Linked DNA regions of Homo sapiens: region 2 is linked to region 1. The links are contacts of gene promoters, found by promoter capture Hi-C in blood cells and fetal thymus (Javierre and others, 2016). All regions are on one chromosome and are shown on one strand. The core of a region is centred on a gene start or on the middle of the fragment in contact, and the rest is flanking DNA. Distances in the headings are between cores, read along the strand shown.

What was found. Contacts are between HindIII fragments. The CHiCAGO score rates a contact against its expected background, and 5 or more counts as called.
Region 2: a contact is called between a fragment that was not itself captured here and the fragment with the promoter of CCDC138 in region 1, in 1 of 17 cell types (naive CD8 T cells). The highest score is 5.7, in naive CD8 T cells.

The regions. Positions count from the first base shown.
Region 1 is chr2:108,784,854-108,788,954 of GRCh38, reverse strand. CCDC138 (coiled-coil domain containing 138) reads right to left here and starts at 2,184. Exons shown (of 15, transcript NM_144978.3): 1 at 2,040-2,184; 2 at 866-923; 3 at 1-103. The coding sequence starts at 2,132. It overlaps RANBP2 (RAN binding protein 2), which reads right to left. Exons shown (of 29, transcript NM_006267.5): 29 at 3,146-4,101. RefSeq lists a silencer at 1,786-2,375. The HindIII fragment of the contact is 5,748 bases long and covers 1-2,840 here.
Region 2 is chr2:108,458,297-108,462,397 of GRCh38, reverse strand. The region is part of intron 4 of GCC2 (GRIP and coiled-coil domain containing 2); the gene reads right to left. Among named protein-coding and RNA genes, the nearest start is that of GCC2, 11 kb to the right of the region's middle. RefSeq lists an enhancer at 1,355-1,424. The HindIII fragment of the contact is 2,349 bases long and covers 1,185-3,533 here.

The sequences.
Region 1 (4,101 bases), core at 935-3,434:
ACGTGCTTGAATAAGCTGCCCAATGGTGTTCTACAATGCTTGCTTTCATCAGAATATTTTAACGATGAACCAACTTTATCTCCAGAGTAGATATCCAAATCACCTGTCAACGACAAAGAAACCATGAAAGATTACCACAACAATATATCACAAAATATCTGGCACTGGCCATAAGTCTAAATAATACTATTTTTAAAATCTTCTCTCTCAAATTTTTTTTTCTTTTTTTTTCTTTGAGACGGAGTCTCGCTCTGTCACCCAGGCTGGAGTGCAGTGGCGCAATCTCGGCTCACTGCAAGCTCCGTCTCCCGGGTTCACCCCATTCTCCTGCCTCAGCCTCCTGAGTAGCCGGGACTACAGGAGCCCGCCACCACACCCGGCTAATTTTTTGTATTTTTTTTAGTAGAGACGGGGTTTCACCGTGTTAGCTAGGATGGTCTCCATCTCCTGACCTCGTGATCCGCCCGCCTCGCCTCCCAAAGTGCTGGGATTACAGGCGTGAGCCACCGCGCGCAGCCTATTTTTTTCTTTTTTGAGACTGAGTTTCGCTCTTGTTGCCCAGGCTGGAGTGTAGTGGCGCCATCTCGGCTCACTGCAACCTCTGCCTCCCGGGTTCAACCGATTCTCCTGCCTCAGCCTTCCCAGCAGTTGGGATTACAGGCGCCCGCCACCATGCTCGGCTAATTTTTTGTATCTTTAGTAGAGACGGGATTTCACTATGTTGGCCTGAGTGGTCTCGAACTCCTGACCTCAGGTGATTCGCCTGCCTCGGCCTCCCAAAGTGCTGGGATTACAGGCGTGAGCCACCGCGCCCAGCCTCAAATTAAATTTTTGAAACCCCCAAATATACAAAATACCGGCTTACCTGGGGAGGTTAGAGTTCTTCTCTTATACTTAGACTGATAAAAATTTGAAAAATCATACTAAAAAAAAAAAGAAAAGATTTAATTTGTATACTAAAAATCAATTTACTGTCTCAAAATATTTCCCCACAAATTATGTATTAATTACAAAGGTTAGAGTGGAGAAATCTTGTAGACACCATCTTAACCAAGTGATCAAAACTAATATCATCAATAATGTGACAAACCAACGTCATGTTCCTCCCCACAGCAGGCCACACATCACTCATCTCATGCTCCTGCCAAAAATGCATAATCAATCTAACGAAGAAGCATCTATAAGATAAACCCAAACGGAGAAACAATCCAATAAATAATTCTTACACTTCTCAAAAAAAAAACAACCTTACAGAAAACAAAGGCTGTGAACCTGTTCCAGATTAAAGGCAACAAAAAGGACAATCAAATACAATCAATGCTCGTTCTTGGGTCGGATCTGCACTAGGAAAAAATTTTCCTATAAAAGGTTTTATCGAGATAATTGCTGAAATTTCTTATGAACTCTAGATTACCAAATATTATACCAATTCTAAATTTCCTGAAAATATTACTGTGGTTATTAAAAGACAACGTCCTTATGCTTAGGAAAAATGCACAAGTTATTTCTATTCAGAGGTAAAGGGGCATGATGCCTGCAAATCACCCTCAAATAGTTCAAAGGGAAAAAATGCGTTTGTAGGGAGGGAAGGGGAGAGAACGAATGGTAAAGCCAATGTGGCAAAATATTAATTTGTGAATGCAAGTGAGGGTACAAGGGAATTCTTGGTAATACTGCAGCAACTTTTGAGTAAGTCCGAAATTATTTCGAAATAAGCCGCTTTTAAAAAGCAATTCAATTGTTTTCACAACTCCACTCACATCACTGCAAAAAAAAGCTGAATAGCACTTTCTCCAACACCACACCATGCCCAGTATACCAGGAACACAGAGGCATAGGTGAAGCGGCACCCCCGCACCCCCGCAGCGCAACGCCCGCCCCTCCCGCCTGCTTCCACGAGGCCCAAGCCGCAGCCACGGCGGGAGTGCCGGGGCCGGGACCAGAGCCGCTGCGCGCCCCCAGGCCGGCTGCGCGGGGCACGGAGCGGGCCGCCCCCCAGCAGCAGGAGCCCACCCGCGGACCTCAGGCGGCGGCTTCACCTCGTCGGGGCAGCTGCCCCCGAGTCCGTAGCGGCTTTTGAGACTCTCCACTACTAAATCCTGCCCCGGTGGCTTGACGACCCTCGGCTCCATAGCACACAGCAACCGTACCAGTCTCCCCGGGAACCGCGTTCATCAAACCCGCGGCGCTACGCGGCCGCAGTGCGTCACGACGTGCCAGACCCCGCCCCCCCGAGGCACGCACGGCGGCAGGGAAAGGGCGGGGCGGGGCGACCCGGAGACTGCAGCCCGGCTTGTCAGCGCGTCCTCCAAGTTTCTCGTGCTAGCACTACACACCTCGTAACTGAGTAGTATTGCATCTCCCCGCGATAGTCCTGCCCCGGCTGCCTGGGTGCCACGGGTTGAGGGGCACCGAGGCCCCGCACCTGCCTGCAGCGCTCCGCTCCAGCTCCATTTAACCTGTTAAGTTTGGTGTGCGTTGCGCTCACCACATAGACCGGTCGTTCCATCAGAAGTGACCTTTGCTAACTGCCATATAAAAGAAAAACCAAGAGTATATCTGAGCCGGGAGTGGTGGCGCGCGTGTAGTCCCGGCTGCTAAGGAGGCTGAGGCGGGAGCATTGCTTTGAGCCTGAGAGTTACATCTATCTTGGGTAACATAGCAAGACTCCCATCTCTTAAAGTTAAAAAAAAAAAAAAAAAGGGAAAGCTGAGCATAGACATTGCAGATTACCTCACTTTCCCTGTGTTCCATATGGGGTATAACAGGGTATTAAAAAGAATAGTTAGAATGTAAGCACCCTGGAAAAAAAACTTTTTTTTTTTGAAAAGAAAAAAGCTTTTGCCAATACCTACAACAGTGCTAACCATAGTACATAGTATACATCAACCTGAAAACCTATGTTAAACAAAACTGACTGAGGGGAACTGTACAACCACTTCATTTTTCTCATTCATAAAATTACAGTGGTGTAATCTTTTACTTTCTAAATTGTGACTGTCAGCTGCATCTCTGGACTAACAACTCCTAAATTCTCTGGATTAAAGTTCCCAAATGCCCAAGTTTTATAAAATCTGTACTTCAGCAGTTATTATCTGAAAATTACTTAGGCCATACTTTTTGCCATAAAGTACCACTTAAGATGTACAAATAATGAATTTTATTCTATCTTTAAGCAGATTTTAATGAGACAACATAAAATCCAGTTTAAAAGGAAAGATACATATTATCGTGGGTTTAGACCACATCAGTGATTAAATAACAAAGAGAAATCAAAGTCCTTTCCTGAAATGTGACACAAAGACTTTCTCATAAATGCCACAAGCCACTTTTAAGCATCTTTGGAATACTAATACGGGAAAAGTCAGTTTACATGTCATTTTGTCAAATTTTTGGTCAAAGTTTTTAAAGCTTTTTAATTTGTAACTTTAGTGCTTTAGGAAAGCATACAAATCTGTAAAAAGTCTCTTAAAAAGCACTTGCATTAACTTAAGAATTTATTCTAAAATCATGACGAAGGCATCAACTGTCTCAGCTGAAAAGTTACAACACACTTTACATCAGTTTATATTACATAGATTTCCAAATAAGCCAATTTGAAATATTTAGTGTAAACATATGTAATCCATGGTTCAAGACTGAACTGATACATTTGGAGTAGGTTTATTTCAAGTATCTGGCTTTGTGGCCGAGTGGAATGGTGATGGTATACCATCACTCATTACTCGCACAACATCCCTCCCCTCTTTTGACTGGTGGTTGAACAGTTACTTGCTTTAGGATACCCAATTTCCAAATCCCCATGTAACAGGGAATAAACCTGTCTTTCCTCACTAAATAAAATGAGGTAATTTCACCCGAAAGAACACAGATGGGTGGAAGACAGTCAATATTCATAATTGCAATATACAAAATTTTGTGTTCTACCTGGATTCTTTGTAGTTCCATATTGAGTAGGCCAATAAGAACATCCTCTTTTCTTTAGCAATTTGCCTAACATTTGATACAAGCCATTTCCAAATACGTTTTTGGTGTGTATCAAACTTGAGAAACTAGGAGCTCTGGAAATTATGCAGCAGTTTGAATTTACTGCCTTTAAAT
Region 2 (4,101 bases), core at 1,110-3,609, 330 kb after region 1:
CTCAGCCTCCTGAGTAGCTGGGACTACAGGCGCCCACCACCACACCCAGCTAATTTTTTTTTATTTTTTAGTAGAGACGGGGTTTCACTGTGTTAGCCAGGGTGGTGTCGATCTCCTGACCTCATGATCTGCCCGCCTCGGCCTCCCAAAGTGCTGGGATTACAGGCGTGAGCCACTGCGCCCGGCCTCCAAATATTTATTTGAATTACTGGGGTATCTCAAAGCAAAGAGAGAACAGAAGGATTAGAAAACCTATTTAGTGGCCGGGTGCAGTGGCTCACGCCTGTAATCCCAGCACTTTGGGAGGCCGAGGCGGGCGGATCACGAGGTCAGGAGATCAAGACCATCCTGGCTAACAGGGTGAAACCCCGTCTCTACTAAAATACAAAAAAAAAAAATTAGCTGGGGGCGGTGGTGGGCGCCTGTAGTCCCAGCTACTCGGGAGGCTGAGGCAGGAGAATGGCGTGAACCCGGGAGGCGGAGCTTGCAGTGAGCCGAGATAGGCCACTGCAGTCCGGCCTGGGCGAAAGAGCGAGACTCTGTCTCAAAAAAAAAAAAAAAGAAAAAGAAAAAAAAAAAGAAAACCTATTTAGTGGCCAGGCACAGTGGCTCATGCTTGCAATCCCAGAACTTTGGGAAGCTGAGGCAGGTGGATCACCTGAGGTCCTGAGCTCAAGACCAGCCTGGCCAACATGGTGAAACCCCGTCTCTACTAAAAATACAAAAAATTAGCTGGGCATGGTGGCAGATGGCTGTAATCCCAGCTACTTGGGAGGCTGAGGCAGGATCACTTGAACCCGGGAGGTGGAGGGTGCAGTGAGCCAAGATTGCGCCACTGCACTCCAGCCTGGGCCACAAGAGTGAAACTATGCCTCGAAAACAAAACAAAACCAAAAAATACCAGAAAACCTATTTAGTGAAATAGTGAAATAATACATGAAAACTCACCAAGTCTAGCAAGAGAGGTAGATATCCAGATATAGGAGGCCCAGGTATCCCCAAACAAATACAATGCAAAAAGGTATTCTCCATGGCATATTTATAGTCCACTGCCATAAATCAAAGACAAAGAGAATTCTAAAAACAGCAAAGAGGAAAAAAAAAAATTCAGCAAAGAGAAAAGCATCTAGTCACCTATAAAGGAACCCCCATCAGACTTACAGCAGGTTTCTCAGTAGGAAGCTTACAGACCCAGAGAAAAGAGAAGAGAAAAGAGAATAATATATTCATTGGAGATAAGAGAATGATATATTCAAAATGCTGAAGGAAAAACTCCCAGCCAAAGTGTATTAGTCTGATCTTGCACTGCTGTAAAGAACTATCTGAGCCTGGGTAATTTATAAAGAAAAGAGATTAAATTGGCTCATGGTTCTTCAAGCTGCATAGGAAGCATGGCTGGGGAGGCCTCAGGAAACTTACAATCATGGCAGAAGGCAAAGAGGAAGGAGAAGGAGGCACATCTTACAGGGTCGGAGCAGGAGGAAGAGAGTGAAGGCGAAAATGCTACACACTTTTAAACAACCACATCTCATGAGAAGTCACTCACTATCATGAGAAAAGCAAGGAGGAAGTTCATGTTCATCCCCATGATCCAGTCACTTCCCACTAGGCCTCACCTCCAACACTGAAGATTACAATTTGACATGAAATTTGGGCAGGGACACAAATCCAAACCATATCACAAAGATACTATAATCAGCAAAATTATCCTTCATAAATGAAGGAGAAATAAAGTCTTCTCCAGACGAGCAAAAGCTGAGGGAATTCATTACTACTAGACCAGACCTACAAGAAATGTTCAAGAAGTCCTAAACCTGAAAGTGAAAGGATGACATTTATGATCATAAAAACACACACAAATAGAAAACTCAGTGGTAAAGCAACACACAAATAAGGAAGAGAAAGGACTCAAATGGTACTACCATAAAAAGACAGCAAACCACTATAACAAACAATAAGAGAAAGGAACAAAGAATATATAAAGCAACCAGAAAACCGTTAATATGACAGAAAAAAGGCTCACATATAATTAATAACTGCATGTAAATGGAGTTAAGCTCTCCTCTTAAAAGATACAGGCTGGCTAAAAGGATAAAAAACATAATCCGACTACGTGCTGCCCACAAAAAATGCACTTTCCCTGTAAAGAGACATACAGACTGAAAGTTAAAGCATGGAAAAAGATATTCCATGCAAATAGAAACCAAATGAGCAGAGAGAACAAAAGGATTAGAAAATCTATTTAGTGGCCAGGCACGGTGGCTCATGCTTGTAATCCCAGCACTTTGGAAAGCTGAGATGGGTGGATCACCTGAGGTCAGGAGCTCAAGACCAGCCTGGCCAACATGGTGAAACCCTGTCTCTACCAAAAATGCAAAAAATTAGCTGGGCATGGTAGCAGATGGCTATAATCCCAGCTACTTGGGAGGCTGAGGCAGGATCACTTGAACCCAGGAGGCGGAGACTGCAGTGAGCCAAGATTGCGCCACTGCACTCCAGCCTGGCAGCGGCGTGATCTCCGCTCACTACAACCTCTGCATTCCAGGTTCAAGCGATTCTTCTGCCTCAGGCTCCTGAGTAGCTATACTTAGATAAAACAGACTTTAAGTCAAAAATAGTAAAAAAAAAAAAAAAAAAAAAAAAAAAAAAAAAGACAAAGAAGGTCATTATCTAATGGCAAAGGAATCAAACCAGCAAAAAGATGTAACAATTCTAAACATATATGAACCTGACACTGGAGCACCCAGATTCCTAAAGCAAGTTATTACTAGATCTAGAGAGAGAGAGACTCCAGTGCAATCGTACTGGGCAAACTCACCCCACTCTCAGCATTAGACAGATCATCTAGACAGAAAATTAACAAAGAAACATTGCATTTAAACCAGACTTTAGACCAAATGGACCTAACAGATGTTTGTAGAACATTTTATCCAACAGCTGCAGAATACATATTTTTCTCAACAGCACATGAAACATTCATTCTTCAGAAAAGACCATATGTTAGGCCACAAAATCATTTTCAACAAATTTTTAAAAATCAAAATCATATCAAGTATGTTCTCGAACTACAATGGAATATTAGAAATCAGTATCAAGGGGAACTTTGGAAGTGACAGAAATACATGAAAATTAAATAACATGGTCTCAAATGACCATGGGTCAATAAGGAAATTAAAATGAAAATCAAAAAATTTCTTGGAACAAATGAAAATGGAAACTACAACATACCAAAACCTATGTGATACAACAAAAGCAGTGCTTTTGTATCACAAAACCTATGTGATTTTTTGTATCACAAAACCTGTGTGATACAACAAAAGCAGGACATGAATACTAAGTTTATGGCAATAAACGCCTACATCCAAAAAGTAAAAAGATTTCAAACAATCTAATGATTTACCTCAATGAACCAGAAAGAACAAGCCAAAGCCAAACCCAAAATTAGCAGAAGGAAACGACTAATAAAGATCAAAGCAGAACTAAATGAAATAGAGACTTTTAAAAAAGGCAGAGGATCAACAAAATGAAAAGCTTGTTCTTCAAAAAGATAAACAAAATTGATAAACTACTAGTTAGGCTAACAACAACAAAAAAGAAGACCTAAATAAAATCAGAAATGAAAAAGGAGACATTACAACCATTCTCATAGAAATAAATAGACCATCAGAGAATATTATGAACAGCTATGCACCCACAAACTGGAAAACCTAGAGGAAATGGATAAATTTCTGGAAACATACAACCTATCAAAGAAAAATCCAGGAAAAAATAGAAAACCTGAACAAATTAATAATGAGTAGCAAGAACGAATCAGTAATAAAAAGTCTCCCCACAAAGAAAAGCCCAGAACCAGATGGATGCACACTGAATTCTACCAAATGTATAAAGACCTAATACCAATCCTCCTGAAACTACTCCAAAATACTGAAGAGGTGGCAATTTTCCCTAACTCATTCTAGAAAGCTGGTGCTACCCTGATACCAAAACCAGACAAGGACACAGCAAAAAAAAAAAAAAAAAAAAGAAAGCAACAACCAATATCCCTGATGAACACCAATGCAAAAATCCTCAGCAAAATACTGGCAAACCAAATCTAACAGC